3 separate regions of the Homo sapiens genome follow, and regions 1 and 3 are each linked to region 2. Evidence: promoter capture Hi-C in 16 types of primary human blood cells and fetal thymus (Javierre and others, 2016). All regions are on one chromosome and are shown on one strand. Each heading gives the region's core, a stretch centred on a gene start or on the middle of the fragment in contact. The rest is flanking DNA. Distances are from core to core; before and after follow the strand shown. Region 1 holds the start of CAPN14 (calpain 14). Region 2 holds the start of LBH (LBH regulator of Wnt signaling pathway). Region 3 overlaps CAPN14 (calpain 14).

The links. Contacts are between HindIII fragments. The CHiCAGO score rates a contact against its expected background, and 5 or more counts as called.
Region 1: a fragment that was not itself captured here is called in contact with the fragment with the promoter of LBH in region 2 in 4 of 17 cell types (total B cells, naive B cells, monocytes and 1 more); the score reaches 10.9 in total B cells.
Region 3: a contact is called between a fragment that was not itself captured here and the fragment with the promoter of LBH in region 2, in 1 of 17 cell types (neutrophils). The highest score is 5.6, in neutrophils.

What each region holds. Positions count from the first base shown.
Region 1 is chr2:31,216,470-31,220,950 of GRCh38, reverse strand. It overlaps CAPN14 (calpain 14), which reads left to right and starts at 3,436. Exons shown (of 22, transcript NM_001145122.2): 1 at 3,436-3,495. The HindIII fragment of the contact is 1,687 bases long and covers 430-2,116 here.
Region 2 is chr2:30,228,315-30,232,853 of GRCh38, reverse strand. LBH (LBH regulator of Wnt signaling pathway) reads right to left here and starts at 1,320. Exons shown (of 3, transcript NM_030915.4): 1 at 1,090-1,320. The coding sequence starts at 1,115. RefSeq lists silencers at 321-380, 391-590, 981-1,070, 1,271-1,820 and enhancers at 1,624-2,138, 2,139-2,654. The HindIII fragment of the contact is 3,135 bases long and covers 1-2,908 here.
Region 3 is chr2:31,171,172-31,175,930 of GRCh38, reverse strand. It overlaps CAPN14 (calpain 14), which reads left to right. Exons shown (of 22, transcript NM_001145122.2): 22 at 1,224-2,875. The coding sequence ends at 1,250. Among named protein-coding and RNA genes, the nearest start is that of GALNT14, 35 kb to the right of the region's middle. The HindIII fragment of the contact is 4,969 bases long and covers 1-4,759 here.

The DNA of each region.
Region 1 (4,481 bases), core at 24-2,523, 990 kb before region 2:
TTTTCCTTTCATTCTTCTGAACTTGTTATTGTCTTTTCTCCCACTCACAAATCAAAGCCCTTCTCTTCTCCTTGTTGGATCCTGGTTTTGAAAATGTATAACCAAACGAACAAAAATCAGGTGGAAAAAAACATCAAGGAATAGCATGACTTGTCAGTTAGTGGCGTGATCTTGGCTCACTGCAACCTCTGCCTCCCTGGTTCAAGCGATTCTCCCACCTCAGCCTCCTGAGTAGCTGGGATTACAGATGTGTGCCACCACACCCAGCTAATTTGTGCAGTTTTAGTAGAGTTGGGGTTTCACCATGTTGGTCAGGCTGTTGGTCATGTTGGTCTCCTGACCTCGTGATCCGCCTGCCTCGGCCTCCCAAAGTGTTGGGATTACAGGCGTGAGCCACCATGCCTGGCCGTCAGTTAGTTTTATGAAGCTTTGGTGCTGCTGCAGCCACCACAGCCTGACATCCCCTGTCTGTGGGGCTGCCAGAAGTAACCCTGGCCAGGGTAATGCTACCCCATGACTTTCTCGCTTTACTCTTATGTTGGCAAAGGGAGAATCAATGGTTAGAGCTTAGCCATAGGCATTTCAGTAGTTTTTCTTATTTACAGTTGTGTTGGATACAAAACAGTTTTACTTGTTCCTTAACGTGAGTCTAATGAAACCCCATAAATAACCTGTGTGCCCATGAAGGGTCACCTTGGAGCAGTCATTATTTACTATCTCAGTACTCTATTTTATTCCTCAACTGGATTTTTTTACTTCTTATTTCAGTGCCCCAAATTCCAACAATCAGGGATTCATTTGGAAAAGGAGTTCTCTATTTTAAAAAATGCAAATATTATGGTGAGGTTAAGGACTTGGAAGCTATTCACACAGTAGTGAGACATCAGGAATTCAATTTGATTGCTTTCCCGTGCCCTGAAGGAATGAGAATTTTGATTAGAGGGAAAGGAAGGAGAAACTTTAGAGAGCAATTAGGTTTGTGGGAGAGGCAGATTATTTAGGGCACTTGGACTCTTCTAGAAGAAGTGGGAAGTAGGACATTAGAAGGTGCCACAGACGCATTTGACCTCCTTTGAATGTTTGCTCAAGGCTGGTCCCAAACAGAATCATAATATGTTGTAACAGAAAGTAGAGAGATGACGAGCACAACTGTGTTTCACATGATTGAGTCCCAGAAAGAGGAAATGGCTTGCCCAGCTTCACAAAGTTAGTGAACCTACATCTGTGTTTCTGACTTTCAAGCCAACCCTCATTCTCCAATACTCCACTGTGCCACCAGCCGAGGAATGCATTTCCCTCTTCTTTGCCTCCAGGACTTAGAACTCTAGCAAGTGCTCCGGTTCTACTGCTCCTGAGCTTGTGAAGCCCATCAAAGCCTTTCTGGGAAAGGCTTCACCACTCCTAAAATCTTGTTTCCACGGGAAAGTAAATTTCTGGTCATAAATCACAAACTTGCCAACCCACTTCTGGTCCACAGCCCACTGTGGGTCAGGATTGCCTGTGCCTTGCAGAGACAGAAGGCTCATCACCAGATGCACTTGCCTTCACTGCCTTTTTCTCAGGCATACTAGTCTGTCCTGGGTGACAGTCGGAAGCCTGGGGAAGGGATGTATGACCTCTGAGATGTTAAAAGGCCACAGTGCTGCTGTGCAAGGCTCCCCGGCCATCTGTTTCCTGTCACCCAGGACAATAACTTTCAAGAGTTGTCACGGGAGGAAATGGCCCTTGGGCCTTACCCTATGCGTCTCGGTGGCTCTGTGAATCCGCAGCACAATTTATGGTAAGCCCAGTGGTGACCATAACAACAACTTAGACATAGAGTGAGCCTAACCCTGTGCCAGGTGCAGGGTGCTGTCCCAAGGGATGAGCGGAAGCCCCCCACCTGGAGTCCCTGAAAAGATGATGAATAGAAGGGGGAAGATAACTAAGGGCCAGGATGAGGAGATGAAAATGAAAAGGTTATGTCTGGGAGATAGATAATAATAATAATGGTCTTCCCAGATCCACTGCTTCTGCTATCCTCATAACACCTTCAGACCCATGCGAGGAAGGGTGGCTATTTGGCACATGAGGCAGGGGGAAGGCTCCAAAGAGCGTTTAGCTCAGGAAGAAAGCTTTGGATTTGATTTGACAGTGGCAGGGAGACAATTCCTTGACAAAGATGAGGAGAAGTTAGTGGAACCTGACACCCTGGGACTTTAGCCCCATCTCTGCTGTTTACTGGCTGCGGTTATCTTGGGCGAGTTGCCATGCTGTGCCTCCGTTTTCTTTTTGTAGAATGTGGATAATAATAGCACTACCTCACAAAGTTGTGAAGATTCCATGAGATTCTGCATGCAATGTGCTTAGCATTGTGCTTGGCATGTCATAAGTGCTCAAAACGTGTTGGCTATTATTATCAATATTAGTTAATTTATCAGTACTAATAAAATGGGTGGAGTGATAATCACACAAAATGATTGAGTTGGAGAGATTAGAGTCAAGGCAGAGGCCAAGAAGCAGGCGGGGAGGAAGAGGACAGAGGATTTCCACAGGCAAGGGACTCTGATTCCACTGACACATATTGAGCACCTCCTGGGTACTAGGCATGGTTCTGGGTTCTGGGGATCCTAGGTGTGCAAGCGTGGAGGCAGGCAAGCTGGAACCAACTAAGCTGCTATGATGGAAATCTGTGCAAGTGGTGGTGGGAACCTAGGAGAAGGATTTGGGGGTGGGGGTGGGGAGGGAGTGAAGAAGTCTAGAGCAACCACAGGAGGGCTAAGAAATGCTTTAAGGGAAGAACAACCAGATTTGGAGCAACGGGACCCAAGGTGAACTGTGAGGAGACAACCAGTGGGAGGTCAATGTTCTGAGTCCCAGATGGCCAAAATGGGGGATTTGGAAAGTAGGTTGGGAAGGAAGAGGGAGCGATCTCAATAGCACAAATGAATCACAGATTTCCTCCTTAGCAGGAAACATCCCTGAGGGCTGCCTCAGACTCTGACAACCATAAAAGAAAACCCACAGCCACCTCTTGAAAATACTTTCCAGGCTTCTGTCAATGTTAGTTTAAACATAGGGATGTACAGGAATCTCTGTCTTGGTTCTTTGGTGTCCTGGGAGTTGTGGGGAGGTGAGCAAGCAGTATCATGTGCTCCTGCAGTGAAATGCTTTTCTAGGTCACACCTGAAAGTACCCTCCCCAGGGTTGGAAGTGAGAAGATGACTAACTCTCTCTCATTAAGGCATTACTGAAACAGGCTTTCTCTGTATGGTGTTCTAAAGAAATAATTGGATTTGTGTAATCCAGTCGCAAAGCCCTGGGTACTCCACTCCCTTCCAGAGAACACACAGTGGGGAGGAACCAAGGTCCTGGGAGGTGGGGTCGCAAATTCTTGGCTAAACACCATGTGTAGAAAGGACCCATATATAAGAGGTGGTTTCAGGCTGCATGCTTCTGACTGCACCGGGATTAGAGCTTGCCCAGGCGCTTAAAGAAGCAAAATCTCCTGTGCAGGTAAATTTCTTTAGTTCCAAGGGTGGGTCCAAGTTAGCCCAGAGGCCCTATGAGACTCTACAGGGTCTGGGTTTAGAAGGTGAGAGGATGGTATTTGCTTCTCCTGGTTTGAGCTTTGCAGGTGAGTGTATACAGAAAAAACCCTGGAGTCTGGAGATTTCAATTTTGTCCTCAGTTTTGCCATCACTTATTAGTGTGACCTTGAGGAATAGACTTCAGCCCTTTGGCCCCAATCTCCTCATTTAAAAAAAAAGATGGGAGTATCTTTGGGCCTGGGTAATTTCTGAGGTCCCTCCAGCTCTGGTTTCTCTCGAAGTCATTTGGTAGAGTTACTGATGCTGCTAGGTGCTGTCATTTCCCAGAACATAGGCCATCCCAGTTGTCTCCTGAGCCTCCTGATGAGAAGGAATCTGGGGGCAGCCAGCTTATCACTGAGGCCTTATGGGATCCTCAGAGTCAAGGAGGCCGACTGTTCTCTGTTCTGATAAGCAGTGAGGCTGGGCTGACTTCCTGTATGAAATTAGATGTGAAAAACACACTGGGACGGTGACCACACTATAAGAGTGAAATATTGCCTCAAATGATAGCTGTCAGTGTGGTGCTTGGCACGGCCCTTGCCTAGATTAGAAATCTCGAAATTGCCCTTGTCTGAGTGGTCTGCTGGCCTATGGGCACTGGAAATCACTCCTCAAAGCTCTGGAGGACTCCAGAGCGAGGTAGTCGGCTCTCAGTTCAGCTTATAACCCTCTCCTATGGAGGCACAGGGTGACAATGTTTTGGTGGGTGGTACCTAAGTGTTTCAGCCTGGGTACATCTTCCAGGCCTGATAGGGTGAGGGGTGTCTTTGACTTTCTAGGGGGAGAATTCTTGGATGAGTTAGGTACTGGCCATTTCACAGAGTGGGCACCTCATGCTGAAGAGTGAGGGCCCTTTCTAGAGTGTGAGCCTGGTCGTTGGACTGTGACTTCCTCGAGGGCAGAAATTCT
Region 2 (4,539 bases), core at 71-2,570:
AGGCAGTTTCCTCCCGGGTCTTGGAAAGGCTGCTGGCGACCTCCAAAGAAAGGAGCCAGAAGAGCGCACGCAGGGTGAAGAGTCTGACGTAGGGGCGGCTCTTCCTCGCTCGGGGCTGTGGCGCCGGCCCGAAAAGTTGAAGCGAGAAGCATGAACTTTCCGCTTCTTGGGCCAGGCCGGACCCCGCCGCGGCTTGCGCCGGTTTTCCCTTCGCTCAGCGCCTGCCGGAGACTCGGGGCCGAGCTCCCCACGTCCGCACCTGAGAGCGCGCTCCGGGGCTGCCGGCGCTCGCCCCCGGCCGCTTCTCCTCTAACCCAGAGCAGGAAGGAAGAAACTGCCAGCAAGGAAGTCCCAGCAGTCAGGGGCCTGCCTCTCTCTGCATCCCTCCCGGCTCCGATCCCCAGTCCGGGGCAAACCTCCGACGCCCCGCGCCCGGCCCGGGCTCCTTCCCCTTCAGCACGGCGAAGGCGGCTCCTCCCAGTCCCGGCCCCCACCAATGTGCGTCGGTTTTTAGGGGCGGTGGAGAGGGCAGGGGTTGAGAGGCTGCAGCGCGTGCCCTGCTGCTTGTGGCTTTAGTGGGGTTACGTGTGGGGAGAGCGTTTCCCGCCCCCCACCCCCCCGGAGCTCTGCAAACCCTGCGGCCGCACCAGCTCAGCCCCGCTGCTGCCGGCCTCGACGTTGAGACTTGCATGCAAACAAAAAGAAAAAGAGGAGGGGCCCGGGAAGAGCAGGAGCCCCCCTGCGCCAAGTGGGGCGCGCGCCTCCTGCAGCTCTCCGCATAGGGTGGTTTCATTGGGGGGGATTCACACGTGACCCCTGGCTCCCCCGCCAACCAATACAAACCCTCCGGCCGTCACTTAGGTGAGGGCTCCGAGTTCACGTCCTTTGTCTGGATGTTCTCAGCACCCCCTCCCCCCACCCCCACCTTTGCAACCTTGACGTTGACTCCTGCACGGGCTCGGGCGGCGGGTTAGCGCTGAGCGCCCGCGCCGCCGGCTGCCCTCGCACCCGGAGCCGGCACGAAGCAGGCGCCCGGGCCCGCAGCCACCGCCGCGAGACAGACGCCCGCCGCAGGCGCAGGGTACTCACCAGTGAATGGGGAAATATATAGACATGAAGTCCTAGGGCAGGCTGACACACGCCCCTGTGATTTAAAAACGGTCCCTGCGTCCCGAGTGAGGATGACACGGGCGCAGACGGGCACGGCAGGCGGCCGAGTGCGGACACCGGGCGCTCGCCGTCCGCCTTCCCAGGACAGCCCCACGGCTAGCGACGTCGGCAAGGTGGACACAACTCCCCGCTCTCCACTGAGCACTCAGCCCCACAAAGAGCCCGGGAAGCCGTATTTATAGGGGCGGGGGCGGGGCTTGGCCCCGAGAGGCCCCGCCCTCCCTCGCCCACTCCTGGAATAACGTCACCAAAATCATGAATGGCTTCAGCGCTCGCAGCTCCGGCGGGCGGCGGCTCGGGGGCGCGCTCGGCTCTGCTCCCGGGGCCGTGGTTCGCTGCGGCTGCGAGCCCGGCCCCCTCCCGCCGCTCTCCCACGCGCACACGCGCTCACTCGCACCGGCCCGGACTCCGCGTCCGCGCCGCTTCCCGCTCACAGCCCCCTCCACGCACACCCCGAACTCCAGCGCGGCGGAGGTGGGCGCAAGGAGGGCGCGGGGGCCGCTCGGGACATGACAGCTCGGCGGCTGCTCTGCGCCGGGGTAGGGCACCCGCCACTCCTCCACCCCAGCCGCCCGGCGCCAGCGCCCTCCTTCCCATCCACTGGCTGTCCCCAGCCCACCTCGGACCCCTCTGAAGCGTTTGTTCCCCATACTAGGCCTCTCTCTGGAATCCTCGCCCGCAGCCTTGCGATCAGCGAGGGGAAACAAGAGCATGGTTAAAGAAGAAGCGGTGGGAAGGTGGCAGAGACGCGGAGCCGGGGGACCGAGTGCCCACGGGGCGCGTTGGCTTGCGAAGGGCTGGTCTGCAGCCCTGAGTTCCGTGGAAGGTTTTATTTGTGGGAGCAAGGATGTGGTGTCGTCCTGGGTAGGATTTTTCCATTGGAGACACACATACGCCCGGTCTGCAGCGGGGGCAGAAGGTGTGGGCGGGCGGTGTGCACGCCGCCCCCCATCCTTGACTCCCACGTCTTCTCCGAGGAGTCGCTCATGACAGCAGAAACAAAGAGCTTTAGCCGAACGCCTCCCACACTGCCCAGGAATTGCAGCTCTGGGCGTCTGTCCAGGCAGTCAAAGCTGCGCAGCCCCCCAGAGCCACATGATGGGAGTCTCACTCGGGACCCAGCGCTGCCGCTCTGTGGCCTCCGCTTCAATCACGCCTGTAAAATGGCTTTAGAACCCTCACCTACCTGTGTATAGGGGCTGAGGAAAGGGGGCGCGGGGAGATCAAAAACTAAGCAAAATTAAATTGGCTTTGAAGTGAATCAGCTTTTTAAAAGAAAGGCAGTGAGTGTATTGAATCCGTATATATGTACTTGAAAGTGGAAACGCATAGCTTATCTCAGGCAAAAGGATGACAGAATTAATGGCGAAGGTTCGACAGGGGTAGGACCCTGAAGGAAGCCGTGAGAGAAGACCCTCATAATTTTCATCAGTCCCCGCAAAACCAGCCCAAACAAAAATTATAAGAATTGATGAGAATAATTTATTTAAAAATAACTGGGCTATTTTCAATCACTTATATGCTTATATGTACAACCTGAGTTAAAATAGTGTGCTTCCTATGAAAACACAGCTTCATGACAAGCCCCTGGCTGCCCCCTCCAACCAGAGAAATTCCCCCACCTCCCAAGCTAAACGCATTCTCTTCCTCTGGGGGTGTTGCCTGATGGAGGGGCTAAACGGGAGATGCTGCAGGGATGGGGTTATTGTTGATGTCCTGCACAGAGGGTGGGGAAGCTTCTCAGTGTCACTAGCCAGGTGTGGCACATTGTCATCTAGGCAGCCACAGGAGACGCCAATGCTTGGAGAGCTAGTTTCCAGGCTGAGACTTCCAGGCACTCAGAGGAAAATGTCTGGGCTAGACCCCGGGTGGGCAGGATGAAGCCTTCTGCCACTTCTTCCCAGTAGCAATCTCTGGTGAGGCTGGGATCAAAGACTGTTGCGCCACTTTTACACATAACAGACACACTTTATGTGTTTGTGATTATTGCCATGTGAAGCTTTCAAAACTCAGAAAGCTATTTCCCTCCCTCCCCATTTTCCCAAATATCTAAATGTCAAAATGGCCTCATTTTGGAGAAGAGGGTGGGGAGTAAGGCCTCCACCAGCTGTTATCTGGCCTCTGGAAAAATCCTCTACATTGGAGTGCATTGAGGGAATTACCTGAGGCCTACTCTTTGGGAAACTTATTAATGCCCATTTTAGCTAAAGTTCATCTCTGTCAGTAAGTTAAAATAGAAATAAGCCTGGGGTTGTGATCCCCAGTCTGCATTTTCTGTTTCTCCTCTGGAATCACAGTGACACATCCATTCATTTGAAAATATGGGAGGTGGCTGGGTGCGGTGGCTCACGCCTGGTAATCCCAGCACTTTGGGAGGCTGAGGCAGGTGGATCACCTGAGGTCAGGAGCTCAAGACCAATCTGACCAACACGGTGAAACCCCGTCTCTACTAAAAATACAAAAATTAGCTGGGCGTGGTAGTGGGTGCCTATAATCCCAGCTACTTGGGAGTCTGAGGCAGGAGAATCGCTTGAACCTGGGAGGCAGAGGTTGCAGTAGGCCGAAATTGTGCACTCCAGCCTGGGCAACAAAAGTGTGACTCCGTCTCAAAAAAATAAAATAAAATAAAATAAAATAAATAAAATAAAATATGGGAGGCGTGGGGCTAAGCTTTGATGCAACCATAACTAGCATGCCATTTCTCAGTTATACTAGTCTATATGATGCCTTGCAGGTTTTTTTTTTTTTTTTGAAGCATTTCATTGTCTTGGCTTTCAAAAGAATGTGATAAGGTTAACATAGCACAACTTATGGTCCTCAGTTCACAGATATGTAAACTGAGGCCGAAATAAATTAGGAGGCTTGCCAAAGATCACACAGCCGGAAAGTGGTTGAGCTGGGCCTGGAACTCAGAGGTTGTAGGCATACTCAGCTTCCCCTTCTGTTAACATAGCTCTGGCTGACTGCCTTTCCTTCATATCTCTAAAGATACAGAGTATTTCAACATGCACACTGACCATTTCTTCCCAATATCCTATGAGATAGGTTTCTGTCCCTACTGCCTTTGAATAAATGAAGAAACAGAAACACAAGCGAATGAAGTTACTTAGAGCCCCAGAACCTTAGAGCTGAACGAGACCTTCCAAATCACCTTGTCCCAGTCTCCTCGTTTTACAGGTGAGAAGACACCTAAGAGATTAAATGGCATGTCCAAGGTCACCAGGCTATTAAGTGGTATAGATGGAACCTAACGCAGGTCTTCAGACTGCTGGTCAGATGTTCTTTCCACTTTAACACTGCGTCTTGCACTGCATTTGCCAAGAAGTCAGCAGCAAAGGTCAAACACAACGTCTGGACTCTGTAAACCAC
Region 3 (4,759 bases), core at 1,032-3,531, 940 kb before region 2:
TCAAAATGCACTGATTTATTGAGCAGCTGCTTAGGTGCCAGGTGTAGCGCTAGGTAATGTTCATTGCAAGGACATTGGACTCTGGAGTTCAATCCTCTGCTCTTTTATTCTGCAACCCTTCCTCTGCTATGGCCACTTAGAAATGATTCAGTCAAAGCTGGAATGTTTTTCTTGATCTCAAATGTCCATTTTATGGAATTGCTTTCCAAGCTGTAGGGACCTGCAGCCTGTGTCACCCCTCAATCCCTCCAAGATTTGATGTGAAGTGGGATTCTACTGGAGGGCCAATGGCCAGAATTTTCAGGGCCTATCCCTGGACTGCTTAGCCCCACACTTGAGTACTGGGGCATCGCTCCTGATCCCAGGCAATCCTTCCACAGTGGCTGGCTCAGGTCTAGGAGAATAGGACAACACAAATGTGGCACCTGAAATAGGACAGCCCAAAACTGAGCAGGGTCCAGTGGGCAAAGAGCTATCACAGGAAGAGAACTGCACTGGGGTCTGAGAACTGGGTTGAAGCCACAACACTTCTTGTAATTAGCTGTGGGGCCTTAGGCAAATTACATTAAATCTCTGGGCCTCAGCTGCCCCACAGGTGAAATGAGTGGAACTAGATGGTCTCTGAGATTGCCTCCAGCTCTGACCATCTGTGGCTCAGTGAGGATCAGGACCACCCAAGGTCTGCAGGGAATGGCAGCCACCTTGTTGGATTTCACGCTGAGGCTTTCTCTGACACCATTGGTAACTTCACTATTCTCAGCTTTATCATTCTGAGGGATTGGCCTGGGGAGTGGTTTCCCCAGAGGTCCCCTCTATATGAGTTAGAGGGGTTGTTCATCAAACCCACATAAAGCTGTCAGACCAAGGGCCCCATAAATGTAAACGTGTAGAATATGCTTTAATGGATTTCTGCTACCCTGCCAGTTTGCACACCTGCACAGAGCTGGCACAAGCATGCCAAATTGAATTCATGGGAAAAAAATTCATTGAGAACTGAATACAGAATCAGCCTGTATTTGACTGTCATCATTCATAGGCACCGTGAGAAGTCAAGGTTGATTATATTTCAAGTTGATTTATACTTCCTAATGGATGATATGCTCCCTCTGGCTAAACCATCCATTAATGTTCTGTCTCCATGGCTCCCCAGGAGTGTGGGATGGGGAGGCCCAGATGAGACGTGGGTCTGAACTGACCATCATTTGCTTTCCCAACATGTCCAGTGGATGATGATGGCACTGTACTCCTGAGAAGGCTGAGTCTCACCTGCCCTCACTGAAGACTCTGCATGTGGCCCAAGAGCAGCCTTTGGCTGAGACCAACCCATGCCCACCCTACTTACTGATCTTCAGGACAGCCTCACTAGCCGTCACCTTCTCAGCTGGGAAGGTTTCTCTTCTGCAGCCCTCCCCGTGCATGGCCAGCATGCAGAAAGGGAAGGGAGGAAGTAAAGATTACATCAGATTTGTAAAAGCTAGCCATCCTTCCCTGAGGCCACAACCTTGTCACAAGCGGAGATGTTACCTGACATGGCCTAAGCATTCTGACTCCAGAGCTGGTGTGGTTAGCCTCCATACAACACTGCCTCTGTGGCTGCAAACTCAAGTGACTTTAGACATGCCACATGTTCTCACATGGTGGGGTAATCATCTAGGTTTTAAGGTCTGAAATGGGAATGATATATCCTTAGACATTTAGTCCCAGCATCTGCAAATTGATAGAGACATAGGCTAAGTTTCAGCTGTTTGGGGATGGGGTCAGGGATATAGTGGGCTTTCAGAAACACAGACAGTAAGAGAATTGGCAGAGTCCAGGTGGGGTGGGCTGGCTCTGGCATCTGAGGTCATGGGGTAGTCTTCTTCTGACAATATCTCCGTATGATTGGATCTGGGGCAACCTAGTAGATTTAAAACACCTGAGTTCTCAAAGGGCTTCCTGCTTGTGACAGGTGTGTCTATTTGCTTGATATATAGACTATCAGATCCATTTCAAATCTGTCCAGAAATTCTCTGTCTATCTACTTCAAAGGACAAAAACAAACCCATGCTAAATTATAGAGTCAATCAGTGGGTGGTTGGTATATCTGATTTTTTGAACTACCATGAAACACCTTGTTTATGTCATCCCTCTCAACCAAGAATACAGGTGCAAAACCAGAACAATGGCCTTTTTCCAAAGTCTATGCAATTTATTCATAAGTTAGCACCTCAGAGCCATTTATTACTACAGGTTGAGCATCCCAAATCTGAAAACCCCAAATCTGAAATACTCCAAAATCTAAAATTTCTGAGAGTAGACATGAAACTCAAAGGAAATAGGGGCATTTTGGATTTTGAATTTTTGGGTTTGAGGTGTTCAACTGACAAGTCTATAATGCAGATATCCTGAAATCTGAAACACTTCTGGTCCCAAGCATTTTAGTTAAGAGATAGTCAACCTGTATTCTATTTAATCTTAATTTACAAACAATTCTAACAAACATGGCTGTTTGATTTCCAACTCCATAGCAGACTCAGGAAGGAAGCTGAATGAAGAGATAAAAGTGTGTCCATTGGCAGAGGACTAAAGGAGATTTGAGCACCTGTCAGATGGGTACTGTACCAGAAGAAAGGAGCACTTTGAAAGCGTAGCTTATGGGGTAGGAAAGTATTTTATTTAGGAAAAAAAACCCTTCATTTATTCCAAATGATAAAATGTAAAATGGGTTTCCATAAAGTGCCAGATACATGAGATGTTGTTGATTTTATAAATGATGATCATGTATTTACAGCCTTTTACAGTTTTTTATATCCATTGACTTATTTGTGTCTTTGTCTTTAAAATCTGCCATTGCAAATAGCTGTTTTAATAAACCAATTTTGCCTTGGCCCCTGAAGGCAGTTTTGGAGATATTTTTGGGTGATGGGAGGGTGACACCATGATCCTACTCATGACATTTAGACTATAGTGTGCTGGCTGTGTTGGTGCAGATAGATCTATCTCCACATTGATTAAGCCTGAGAGCCCCTCTGGTGACTTCTCAGTGGGTGGTTTGAGTGGTCCTACATCACTCAGGTGCTAGCCTCACTCTCCTGAGTCTAGGTATCTGCACTGTGGCAACTCAAAGATGACCTGTCTTTGCTGACACCCTTCCTCCAGATTCTCTCCTATACCCCCAAAGCTGAGTACTGAAGACCAGGGGGCAGAGCAATCTCCCCACTCCCACCACGCTTCCCCATCTTCTGTCACTCCAGGGGAAGCAGGGGCGGGAAAATAGAGATCTGGGGCAGGAGAAACTGGGCAAGCACCAGGGTGAAGTCAGCTGAAGGGCTGAGAGTTGACCATCAGCAGTTCTGGAATATCGAAAGCAGAAAGTCTGCCATGAATAAGAAAAAGTGGAAAGTGCAGCCAAGGAGGAGTGAGAAATCACCTGCCAGTGCCAAGGAGGGTGAGGTCAAGGAATCCAGAGGTTGGGTTGTCAAGTCCAGCCCACGCAGGGAAAGCATATCAAAGTGAGGCCTGTTCCAGGCTGTCACAATCTCAGGAAAACAGGACTCTACCTGAACAAGAGGAGATGAAAATACCTACCATTTATTTATCCCTGGTCTTGTTTCTTCTTTCATGTTTTGTATAAAACTTCAGTTATCCAAAGAGAACCTTCTAGATTGCAGATGTGGCCTGGAGCAAGGCACTTCCTGGCTGACTGTAAATAGCACTGTTTTCCTGCCATTGCTGTATTGAGTTAGAGAAATGATTTTGGCTTCCAGGATTTTGAACCTGATGTTTCCCCAATGAAGTATATGTATTTAGATTTATAATGAAGGAAAGGAGGAAATGAGTGTTGTGGGTGATGAGTAGGTAAAAGCGGGCATCATGGAGAAGCAGGCTGTGTATCAAGCTCTCAGGATCTCTGCAAAGATGGTCCTTTGGGGTCACTGGTCTCAGGTCCTGGGTTACCATCTTTTCTCCAGTGTCCTGAGGACAGAGAGGCTACCAAATCCAACAGAAATGAAAGAGAAGAGAGGTGAGAAGATGCACTCTAGCTGTGTGACATTGGACCTCAGTTTATTCATTTGTAAAATGGAGCCCAAATGCCTCCATTCCTGGGTCATTGTGAAGATTAGATAATGCCAGCAGGCTGTAGGCACCCAATGAATGAAGCTCCAATTTTTCCCCTGAGGTAGAACAAGTAATTTCTACAGCTACTATTACTTATTTTTATTTTGGTTTTTAGAGGACATAGTGAAACACCCATGGTTTTATGCTCTATTTCTCTTTTCCTCATCTTCTTCCACATCCTCTTTCTGAATGTATCAAACTACTTCCTTGAAGTGGGGCACCAGGAGGGCCACTCCAGTCTCCAATGCAGGGACTCAGGGGCAGGGATCTCTGAGAAAGTGGCCATCTCGTTATTAAAGCTCTGTCCTCTGCTTCCCTCTCACCTCAGAAGCAGCCCGTTTATTCAACAGAGCTCCAGGTTGCCAGCTAGGGGTTTTCGGGACCATAGACCAAGCAACCCCGAGAGACTGAGTACTGACCTGCAGTTGTTCCAGAAACTCTGCTGGGAATTAGGTTGTGACCTAGAAGTGAACTGACACTAACAGTGAGAAGGCAGGGTAAGAATGCAGTCTAGAGCGCAACCTTTCTCCACTAGACTTGTAAGTAATTTAAGTGAATCCTGTCCCCCTGGGGTTCTATCCTGGCTGGCTCTGCTGGTGAACTTGACTGGCCAGCATAGGGCACTTGATGAGACCCTGGAATGCTGAGGCCAGTTGGGCAG